Linked DNA regions of Homo sapiens: region 2 is linked to region 1. The links are contacts of gene promoters, found by promoter capture Hi-C in blood cells and fetal thymus (Javierre and others, 2016). All regions are on one chromosome and are shown on one strand. The core of a region is centred on a gene start or on the middle of the fragment in contact, and the rest is flanking DNA. Distances in the headings are between cores, read along the strand shown.

What was found. Contacts are between HindIII fragments. The CHiCAGO score rates a contact against its expected background, and 5 or more counts as called.
Region 2: a contact is called between the fragment with the promoter of ENTPD7 here and the fragment with the promoter of HPS1 in region 1, in 4 of 17 cell types (non-activated CD4 T cells, naive CD8 T cells, total CD8 T cells and 1 more). The highest score is 9.3, in non-activated CD4 T cells.

The regions. Positions count from the first base shown.
Region 1 is chr10:98,444,763-98,450,575 of GRCh38, forward strand. It overlaps HPS1 (HPS1 biogenesis of lysosomal organelles complex 3 subunit 1), which reads right to left and starts at 2,173. Exons shown (of 20, transcript NM_000195.5): 1 at 2,045-2,173; 2 at 538-642. HPS1-AS1 (HPS1 antisense RNA 1) reads left to right here and starts at 1,559. Exons shown (of 3, transcript NR_134454.1): 1 at 1,559-1,995. RefSeq lists a silencer at 1,991-2,340. The HindIII fragment of the contact is 10,907 bases long and covers 1-5,813 here.
Region 2 is chr10:99,656,931-99,662,743 of GRCh38, forward strand. It overlaps ENTPD7 (ectonucleoside triphosphate diphosphohydrolase 7), which reads left to right and starts at 2,579. Exons shown (of 13, transcript NM_020354.5): 1 at 2,579-2,658; 2 at 2,932-3,034; 3 at 4,516-4,698. The coding sequence starts at 3,027. It also overlaps a transcript of SLC25A28 not described here. RefSeq lists silencers at 2,258-2,467, 2,588-2,807. The HindIII fragment of the contact is 2,116 bases long and covers 1,351-3,466 here.

The sequences.
Region 1 (5,813 bases), core at 923-3,422:
TGCAGCCTATTCCCACAGAATTACTCAATGCCAAGGCAGACACTGAGAGTGCAACAGGTGTGAAAAGGAGGTTGCTGGGAGAGGCGGGTGGACCTGAAGAGGCTGCTCTGGGACTCCCAGGTACATGTGACAAAGCTGACCAGAGTGTATGGGTTAGGGAGCAGTGGGCTATGGAATGGAGGCTGTGGTTGTGAGCGGAGAAGTGACCGGCTGGCTGGAGATGGGCAGGTCAAGGTCATGAAGGCGGTCATCTAGGTGCGGGTGTCAGGTAATGAGTGCTCACCCCTTGGTGGGGGCTGGGAGGAGCTTTAAAGATGCAGCAGGCTGTGATGACCTGCCTGGATTCGAGGGGTGAAGGAGAGATGAGGCATCAGGATGGGGGTGGCCTCAGGATGCAGGGCTGGGGAGGGGATGAGCAGGTGTGCAGAGCCCAGTAGCACTCAGTCCACTGCCTACCTCATTCCATCTGCCTCCCAAAGCCCCAGGGTGGATGCTGCCTGCCTCCCTGTCCTCCCCAGGTGGGGCAAGATCATCTACCTTGGCAAGCACAGTGGAGCATCCAGACGGCCAGAGGTTCAGAAAGGGCTGCAGCAGACCGACTCGGTGACTGGCTCATGGGAGAGCAGCACAGCATCCCTGGTCCTGCAAATGCTTAAAACAGAGAGAATATGAGGGCAGGCAGATGCCCTGGTCTTGACTGCTGCCCGTTGAGAAAGGACAAGCTGGAGAAGGGCTGCGTGGTCCCTGGTCTCTCCAGGCCCTGAGGCAGTCTGCTAAGAACATATCTGGGATCCTGCCCCTCACCTCCCATAATGGAGAATAGGAACCCGGCCAGCACAGCCCTTTGCACAGAGCAGGTGCCCACTTTTGTTCCTTCCTCCTTTGTTCCCATGAAGTGCTCTCACTTCTGCGGGTCACTCAGAGCTCCCCAAGCAGCCCCAGGGAGCTTGCTAGGAGTGACTGACGGGAGACAGCATAGCACATCCCAGGTGGTGAGGATGCAGTCCCGGTGAAGGGAGTGGGGATCCTGGGATGATACGATGAATGGAAGGAAACTAACAGGAAAGGCATCTGGGACCAGGTTCTAGTTTTGGCTTTGCCAAGTCCCATAAACCTCTCTGAGCCTCAAACTCCTGCGGAGAAACAGAGCAACATCCCCTACTCTACCTCCCTACAGGGTTAGATCATGGGAGTGACCAGGCAAGCTGCAAAGTAACCTTAGCAAACTGCGTTCTTACATAGGTGTGGGGATCATTATTCCTATTTCCCAGCTTCCCTTCTTCAAATAACAGGATTAATCAATCTGGTTCCGGAATCATTCATATTTGAATAGAGGGCAGGAACAACAGAAAACTTAATTAGGAAGTCAAGCACTGTGAGCCAGTAAGAGGCAAGTGACTACCCGCCACAGAGACTGCTGTTACGAGTTCGGCCTTTAGCAGCCGAACCCTGAGACGGGCTCCATCACCCACATGATTGGCCCGAATGCCATATTCCCGAAACAGGGGGATGCTTCCCAAAGGCTGCTGGGAAGAGAACCTCGCCGGTGTCACACTGAGACTTCCGCTTCACCTCGCTATCTTGCCCTAGAAAGGGAACTCGGAGGGGACTCACTGACGAAAGGAGCTCCAGATGGCGGGGGGCCAACCTGGGGCGACCCCCAGCGCCCACTTTCACCATCTGGACCCCAGCAAACCTCCCTGTGGCCCTTGGTCCCGTCTTCAGCAGCTCCTTCTGGGGTCCCACACCTTCGGAGCCCGGCCCTGCCCCTGAGTCTCTGGAGAGAGCGAGTCAGCAGTTCGCCGCCGCGGGGCTCCCGTTTGCCTAGCACGCCAGTTTCTGTCCAGTTTCACCCCAAATCCCCACCTCCCCCCACCCCCGAACCTCACGGCCACCCTGGGAAGGAGGCTTGACTTGTGACATCCACCCCTCTTCACGGCTGAGGAACTTTGGCCCCGAGCGAGGAAGCGACCGGCCCACGGCCACACGCCCGGAGTGGGTGAGGCTAGGAGTGGGCCCGCTCCGGGACCCCTAGGGACCCTACCTCACTTCCGGGAGGGTTGAAGGGGGGCTCCGGAGGGAGGATCGCCGCCCCCAGAGGGGACAGCCCGGAGGCCCACGTACCGGATCGCGGCGCGCACAGCGCCCCGCCTGCAGGAGCCCGGGCGCGCTTCCGGGTAGGACCGCGTGATCGCGCACGTGACCGCCCGCCCCGGGAGGGGCCGGAGCCGCCGTCGCCTTCCGCGGGTTCGAGCCCCGCCCCTGCCAGGCCTTGCCCATGCCCCATTTTACAGAAGAGGAAACGGAGGCGCAGAGAGAAGAAATAACTTGCTGAGGGTCCGAACCAGGCTCAGAACCCAGGTTTCCTGGCTCCTCAGCTGATCCCTTCTCTCCTCCCCATGCCCCGGAACCTCAGGCTTTGCCTAATGAACTGAAGTTCTGGGGCTAGAGCTGTCCTTTTGTGACTGCTCTCCCTGACCTTTGGGGAGGTGACATAGCGCACAGAAGGGCTCAGTTGCCCCCAGAGTGCCAACGCTGGAATTTATAGGAGTTCTCAATCTATTTTGGGAGTGGAGTGCACATTAGGAGTTTTGTGTTGAACCTATGTTTGCAATATTTATTTTAAAAAATCGTATGTGTATTGGGGGTGCCTGGAAGTGGAGGGGGCGCTCTGGAAGGGCCTAAATCCCCGAACAGTCCACCCCTCAGTGCCTGGGTGCCACCTGGGAGCTTTGAGCCCAGCCCAGCAAGGTATGGGTTGCAAGAACTGGCTGGGGATATAGTAGATTGAGCATCTCTTGGGGGAAAGGCAGAGGCTAAGAATCAATACTTCCACCACCTGCAGATCAAAGAGAGCATCACTCCCCCCAACCCACTACCCACCCCTTCCAGCCCACCTTAGGGCAAATTCTTCCAACTCCCCATCTACAGCACATAGCCCTGCCACACGCATCTCTTTGCTCAGCCCACCGTTGAGATCGTTCACTCACTATGCTTTCAGTGGTCGAATGAATTCCATCAAATGGATATGCTGTTATTTACTTATTCATTCCCCTACTGGTAATTTCCATTTCCCAACTGCAATGTATGAGGATTCTGATTTCTCCACATCCTCACCAATGCTTGTTATTGTTGATTTTTTTTTTTTTAAGTATAGTAACCCAGCGTGGAGTGGTGTCTTGTGATTTTATTTGCACTTCCCTGACGTTCGGCATCTTTTCATGTGCTTTTTGCCTATTTGTGTACCTTCTCTGGAGAAATGTCTATTCAAATCCTTTATCCATTTTTAAATTGTCTTTATTATTGAGTTGTAAGAGTTCTTTATATGCTCTGGTTACAAGCCCCTTATCAGATACTTGATTTGCAAAAGTTTTTTTCCCATTATGTGGCTTGTCTTTTCACTTTCTTAGTGGTATCATTTGTAGCACCAAAGTTTTACATTTTTATGTAATCCAATATAATCTATTTTTTAGTTATGTACGGGTTTTTTGTGTCAACATGTTTCTTTTTTTCAAATTTGTTTGTGGTAAAATACATATAATGTAAAATTGATCATTAAGCATTTTAAGTGTATTGTTCAGTGGTATTAACTACATTCCTAATGCTATGCAGCCATCACCACCATCCATCTCCACAGCTCTTTTCATCTTTTAAAACTGAAACTATATCCATTAAGCAATAATGCTGGCCGGGTGTGGTGGCTCACACCTGTAATCCCAACACTTTGGGAGGTCAAGGCGGGCGGATCACAAAGTCAGGAGTTTGAGGTCACCCTAGCCAACATGGTGAAACCCTGTCTCTACTAAAAATACAAAATTAGCAGGGTGTGGTGGCACACAGCTGTAGTCCCAGTGACTCAGGAGGCTGAGTCAGGAGAATTGCTGGTACCAAGGAGGCAGAGGTTGCAGTGAGCCAAGATCATGCCACTGCACTCCAGCCTGGGCAACGGAGCGAGACTCCCATCTCAAAAACAACAACAAAAACAACAACAACAACAATTCTTCATTCCTCCTCATAGCAACCACAATGTTACTTTCTGTCTCTATGAATTTGACTACTCTAAGTACCTCATATAAGTAGAATCATACAGTATTTGTCTTTTTATGACTGGCTTATTTCACTTAGCATAATATTCTCAAGGTGCATTCATGTTGTAGCATATGTGAGAATTCCTTCCTTTTTTCTTTATTTTTAAGCCTAAATAATACTCTATAGTCTGTATATACTACATTTTGCTTATCCATTTATCTGCTGATGGACAATTGGGTTACATCCATTGTGAATAAGGCCATTATGAACATGAGTGTACAAATATCTCTTTGAGACTCTGCTTTCAATTCTTTTGGGCATATACCCAGAAGAGAAACTGCTAGATCATATGGTAATTCTATTTTTAATTTTTTAAGGAACTACCATACTGTTTTCCACAGCAGCTGCATCATTTTACATTCCCAACCTGGAACAAGTGTTCCAGTTTACCCACATCTTTGTCAACACTTGCTATTTTCTATTTTCTTTAAAATTTTTATAGTAGCCATCCTAATGGGTGTGAGGTAGTTCAACATAAGTTTATATTTCTCTTAGGTAAATATCTACTCATGGGATTGCTGGGCTGTATGGTAAGTCTGTGTTTAAATTTATATTAAACTGCTGAACCATTTTCCAAAGTGGATGTACCATTTTACATTCCTTCTAGCAACACTGAGAGGTGTAATTGCTCTGTAGTCTTGTTAGCACTTGATATTGTCCTATTTTAACTTTAGCCATTCTAGTAGGTATGTGGTAGTATGTTAAGTGTTCAAATTTTGCCTATTTAAAAATTGGATTGTTTGTCTTATTATTTATTTATGTGTTTGAATTCAAGCCCTTTATTATATTTTTTTTTCCCAGTCTGTGGCTTTGTCTTTTCATTTTCTTTACAGTGACTTTTGAAGAGCAGAAATCTTTGTGCATTTTGTGTCCTATGTAAAGTCTCTGCTTAGCCAGGGTCACAGAGATTTTCTCCTGTTTTTTCTTTTTTGCAGAAATTTAATAGTCGTAGATTTTGTCTTTAGGTTCACAATCCATTTTGAGTTAATTTTTGTGTGTGATGTGAAAGAAGGTTGAGGTTTTAGTCTTTTGTGTGTGTGTGTGTGTGTGTGTGTGTGTGTGTTTTGTATATAGATGTCCAATTTTTCTAGAACCATTTGTTGAAAAAAAATATTTTCTCAGCCAGGCGTGGTGGCTCATGCCTGTAATCCCAGCACTTTGGGAGGCTCAGGAGGGCAGATCATCTGAGGTCAGGAATTGGAGACTAGCCTGGCCAACATGGTGAAACCCCATTTCTAGTAAAAATACAAAAAAATAAATTAGCTGGGCGTGGTGGCATGCACCTGTAATCCCAGCTACTCAGGAGGCTGAGGCAGGAGAATCGCTTGAACCCAGGAGGCAGAGGTTGCAGTGAGCCAAGATCGTGCCATTGCACTCCGGCTTGGGCAACAGGAGTGAAACTCCATCTCAAATAAATAAATCAATCAATCTTTTCTCCATTGGATTAATTATCATGGCACGTTGTCTCAAATCAGTTGACCATCTGTGTGTGAATCTATTTTTGGAGTCTATGTTCAATAAATTTAAAAGGAGTTTATTGATTTTCTTAGAGGCAGTTTTTGGTTGAATCAATTTTTATTGATCCTGTTTTTAAATTCATCAGTTTCTGTTCTGATAGTTACTATTTCGTGTCTTCTGTTTACTTTGGGTTTTTTTTTCTTCTAGAAACAGAGGCCACTGATTTGAGACCTTTTGTCTTTTCTAATGGAGTTGAGTGCTGTAGA
Region 2 (5,813 bases), core at 1,329-3,828, 1.2 Mb after region 1:
GGTTTTTGTAAAGAATTATGCTTGACAAATGCTTGAGGGCATATGGATTTATTGAAGGAAGTATTGTCCAAACCAGACTGACAAAGAAAGTTTTACAAAGAAAATATAATGAAAAAATGTTGGGATTAAAATGTAGGTCTTTTCTGTTTTATGATGTAGTTATGAAATGTAAATTAGAGGATGTTTCAATGAACTTTTGAATTATAAGTTAATATAGTTCATAAACCATAGGAATTAAGTACTATTTTAAAAATAGGAATTATACTTCCACTCAAAAACACCTATTTTGTGGAACACTAAAGTTTGAAATATATATGTATAGAGATTAGACTTAGAACTCACAGAAGGTAAATTCAAGAAATTTTTAAAAATTACTCCAAAACATTATTTTAGTTCTTTCCATATCTATTTTGTTCTAGGAACTGAACTGGGTTCTGAAATAATAAAAATAACTGGTATCTGTATAATGTTGTGGTTAATCCCAACTTTATGCAACTATTCTATTCAATGTGGTTTCTGGGGGTCCAGATAAAATATAACACTTGAAGCAGAGTGGGGATTGAGGGACAGAGAAAAAAAAACTGAGAACTGAGAATTGAAGAAGAAAGGCAAATTAGGAAGTTCAACAAGGTTAGGAGAGTAGTGGAGCCAAAAAAACAATAGTCATGAGAACTGAATATAGAAACTGGACAATGGCTAGATCTTATATGACAATTAGAACTCTGACCCACAACCTCTACAGCAACCAGCCGAGAATAATCAGGACTTGGTCAATGACTCAGTTTCCCTGTTTTTTGCCGCCTCCTTTCTTCAACTCAGAACCCACTAAAGACAGCCAAATATGCTACCTACCCCAAACCAATCACCTAAGAGACACTACTTTTGTTAGCCCACCTCCAGCTTTCCCATGCTAATACCCTCAAGTCAGAGTATACATGAAACCTTCCCTTTTTGTTCACTACTAAGCTTTCCTGGCCAGGTGCAGCTGCTCATCCCTGTAATCCCAGCACTTTGGGAGGCTGAGACAGGAAGACTGCTTGAGCCCAGGAGTTCAAGACCAGCCTGGACAACATAGTGAGACTCCATCTCTACAAAGAATTAAAAAAAAATAAGCTGGGCATGGTGGCACGTGCCTGTAGAGCCAGCTACTCAGGAGGTTGAGGTGGGAGGATCGCTTGCTCAGGAGGTCGAGGCTGCAGTGAACCACGATCGCACCACTGCACTCCAGCCTGGATGACAACAGAGTGAGACCCTGTAGGTAATTAAGTAAGTAAGTAGTTTTCCTAATGTCCTGACAGGCTTTGAGTCGGCCAAATGCAAGTGATGGTGACTGACTCCCTTGTCATAGTAAGCTTTGAATAAATAAAGCATTTGGGTGGTCTTCCTCCCCGATCCCCCCCATTCATTCATTTGCTTATTAATTATACATTAGTTGTGTTTTATCTGCCAGGCAGTGGCCAGTATTGGGAATATGTGGAAGCAAATAGTCCCTGCCTTCAAGGATATTCTGTCTAGTGGGACAGACAGACAGACATATACGTATAATAGTAATTCAACGTGCTAAGTGAAACAATAGGCATGTATAAAAAAGGTGTAGTAGGTCAAGTAGGGCTTTTAGGGGAAGGCGACCCTTAAGATGGGTGGTAAGGGATGAGTAGGAGGTGATTTGGCTAAGAGGCTGGGACGGTTATTCAAGGCAGGTGGAGGGGCAGAATGAGCAAAACAGGACGCGTTGCTGGAGCGTGGTAAGGAAGGCAAGTAGCGGCAGAGGACGGCGGTAGGGCGGATCGTGGGGCGCAATGGATGTGCCACGTTGGAAAGAGCTTGGACTTTATGCCGTCCTCCTGGAAATGAGATAACGGCTGGTGTAAGCAAGAAAGAAACACACACACACCCACGCGCGCGCGTCGTTTCCTTTGTGTTACTGTAAGGTCAAGGAGGGCGGCGACACAGAAATTCATGATGACTGGCATAAGCAGACATTCAATGAATGAATGAATGGACATAAGCACTTTGGTGTAAACGTCATTGTCTTCGATTTCTGTTTTCTCACGGGGCAAGACAGTGAGGTCGGGGCATCAGTTTGGGAGGTGATAGGGAAGGTTTAAGGTGAGAGAACTGCCATTCTGGTAGGGAGGGTCAGTGGGCACAAAACCAACAATAGGTTATGGGCAAGGGATGCGCTTCGGTCGCGAACACCCTGAACCCACCTACCGGAGCTACTCTGTCCCAGGAGCGGCCGTGGAGAAAGCAACCAGCCGAGAGTTCGCGCCCCAGGGAGGGAAGCGGGCACAGGGCCGCCCAGCGCCACTCACCTGTGAGCTCTCCGCGGGCCCTGCAGGCGGAGCCTCGGTACGACGCCTTTCCGATTGGGCGCGGCTCAAAGTCCCGGGGCGGGCATCAGAGGCCGAGCGCTCTAGGGGATTGGCCACCCTGGCGGACGGACGTGCTGCTGACCGAGCTGGTTCGCCCCCGGTTCGGCTCGTGGAGAGCCGGCCCCTCCGTGAGTCTTCTGTCAGTCATTGGCTCCCTGCGGTTTCCTTGGGGACGTGGCGCCGCCGCCGGCCGGGCCCTCCTTCCGGCTGGGCAAGGGGCCGCGGGGAGCAGCTCGGGACTGAACCGAGAGGTGCCGAAGGAACCGGCGGGCCGCTTGATCCCGTGAGTGTGGGCGCGAGAGGGCTGTGGGACCCGGAGGGACGGGGAGAGGAAGCGGGACCCACACCCCGCCACCTGGGGACGACCGGTTCCTAGAGGACAGAGCTGGCCCACGAGAACGCCCCGCTCCCAGGATGCCCGGGTAGGGTCCCCTGGGCCTGAGGAACCAGAGCAGACGGAGCGGGAGCCTGGGGAGGAGGTGGGAGCCGTGGAATTCCCGTGCAGGTTTGTCTCGTGGGCTCAGTCGGACAGAAGCCTGAAATCAAATCTTTCTAGGCTGCAGACGTAGGAGATGCCTGGGACAAGGAGGCCACCTTCTCAGGGCAAAAGAAAAAGAAGGTGACAGGCGTTGAGACCACCGAAGGGAACCCATGGCTAGGTAAGGCTGCACACTTTCCCTCCGGCTGGGAGCACGGCAGAGGATGGCAGGCAGGTTGGGGGGCCCTGGGAGGCTGTCCCAAGTGAGGTTTGCCCTGGAGCTGCACTTGGACTTTGTATTCTGGTTAGTTGGATGCAGAGACGATCAAAGTTGTATTATTTCGAGGGCTGATAAATAATAGTTTCTAGCCCATAGACCAGGAGTGGTAGAGTGAGTCGGCTTGCTCAGCTCTGTAAAGTGCAAGGTTGTAACATTGATTCAGATTCGCATCTGAGCAAGGCTAGGTGCCACTTGAGGAGGTTAAACAAAGAAGTTTTTTTGTTTTTTGTTTGCAGTGAACTTTAAAAGCAGACAGACCGAGGTCCTTTTGAATCAATATACAAAGTGAACTTCACAGATGAATACACTTATCCATACATTATAATAACCTGAAGCTTTTAAAAAATATTAATGTGGATCTACATGCACCAATAAGGGAAAGTTATAAAATAAAGTGGGGGAAAGATGCAGAACAGCAGGTATGGTGGACTACCATTTGTGTAAAACCGAGGGAATGGATACGCACACACACACACACACACACACACACACACACACAGAGATATATTACTGTAAATATATTGGTGTATATTTATGCTTGTGTATCCGTAGAATATCCCTGGAAAGATACACAGCAACGGCCAGGTGCAGTAGCTCACGCCTGTAATCCCAGCACTTTGGGAGGCCAAGGCAGGCAGATCACCTGAGGTCAGGAGTTCAGGACCAGCCTGGCCAAGTAGAAACCCGGTCTCTACTAAAAATACGAAAATTAGCCGGGTGTGGTGGCAGTCACCTGTAATCCCAGCTACTGGGGAGGCTGAGGGAGAAGAATCGCTTGAACCCAGGAGGTGGAGGTTGCAGTGAGCTGAGATTGCGCTACTACACTCCAGCCTGGGCAACAGAGCAAGACTCCATCTCAAAAAAAAAAAAAATTACACAGCAACTGGGTAGTAATGTTTGCCTCTGAGAGATTGTGGGGTCAGGGCAAGAATCACTTTTCACTATACAATATATCCTTTTAAACTGATTTGTCTTTTACTATGTGCTTGTATAATCTGGTAAAACATTTTTAAAATCAGTTAAATAAATTTTCTGACCATCCTGTTTCTTGACAGAATTCTTGGTTGGGAATACTGTAGTTGCTCTGATTCTCCAATGTTATGAGGTTGCCCAGGGAGACTGGTGATCTTTTCACTAACATGAGATTAAGTCTTTGAATTGCACTCAAAGTGCAGTTTGGAAAAAGGGCAGATAAGGCTTTTCTGATATATATAGTAGAAGCACCATGAGCTTCTTCTAAAATTAGAGATGACAAGAACATTTAGACTTCTGTTGGCATGGATTTTTGCCTTTATTAGGAGGGTTTTATCCAATTTTAAAACGATATTTAAGCACTCAGTTGTAGAAATGTTTCAGACTTACTAATGTTTGTCTAATTTCAGGATCAGTTTTTCCTACCTCTGCCCAGCCTCCTGGTACTTCACTGTGCCCACAGTGAGTCCATTTCTCCGTCAGCGGGTGGCATTCCTGGGACTCTTCTTCATATCCTGTCTCCTTTTACTTATGTTAATCATAGACTTTCGACATTGGAGTGCTTCATTACCACGAGATAGGCAATACGAAAGGTGAGTCAGCTTTAGATTTTGGCACTCAAGTCATAAATATTTTCATAAGCTGTTTAACACACTACTGACTTTGACCCTTTTGGGTGATACTGTACTTTTATTAGTAAAATTGCATGCCATTTATTACATAAAGAAGATTTTAAGCCCTATTTTGGCAATATGCAGTTTGGTACAGGAATACTGATACTGCATGAAAGGCATCTTTGTGTTTTCTTGTTTTGGTGGGCTGAAACTTATTGTGTGTATAAATGTTTAGGACTGTATTATACCTTTATGAATGGACCCCTTTATCATTATTAAATGATTTTCTTTATCCTTGATTATATACTTTGCTCTGAAATCTACTAGTCTGGTATTAATATAGCTACTCCAACTTTCTTTTGATTAACATTAGCATGACAGATATTTCTTCTATAGTTTTAGTTTTAGCCTATTGGTGTCTTTATATAAGTGGGCTTCTTGTAGTCAGTGTTTGGTTGGGTCTTGTTTTTTTATCCAATCTGACTATCTCTGCAGTTAATTGGGGTGTTCGGGCCATTTATATTTAATCTGATTATTTAGTATGTTTAGTTTTAATCTTGCTATGTGTTTTTCATTTGTCACATTTGTTCTTGTTCTTTTTCCTCTTTTTCCCTCTTCTTTTCAGTTGAGCACAGTTTTTATGTTTCCATTTTATCTCTCATGTTGGCTTATTAGATATAACTTCTTCTTTTTTTAGTGGTTACTTTAAAGTTTATAGTGTCATCTTTAATTATCACAATCTTCCTTCAAGTAATATTACTCCTCTTCACATCTAGAACAAGAACCTAACAACAGTATACTTTCATTCCTCCCTTCCCCTTGGTCTTTCTGCTACTGTCATGTATTTTATTTCTACATGTTATAAGCTCCACAATATATTGTTATTATTTTTGTGTTAGTCAATTGTCTTTTGAAGAGATTTTCAATATAAGAAAAAAAGGCTTATGTATTTAACCATATTGTTGCCTGAAAGGGTCATATAAGCAAAGTGACCCTTGAATGCTGAAGGGACGGAGAAACCAAAGGAGGAGGCAGGCAAATTGTTCGTTGGTATTCATTGATTTATTGAGGGAATTTGCAGACAGAAGCGTGGC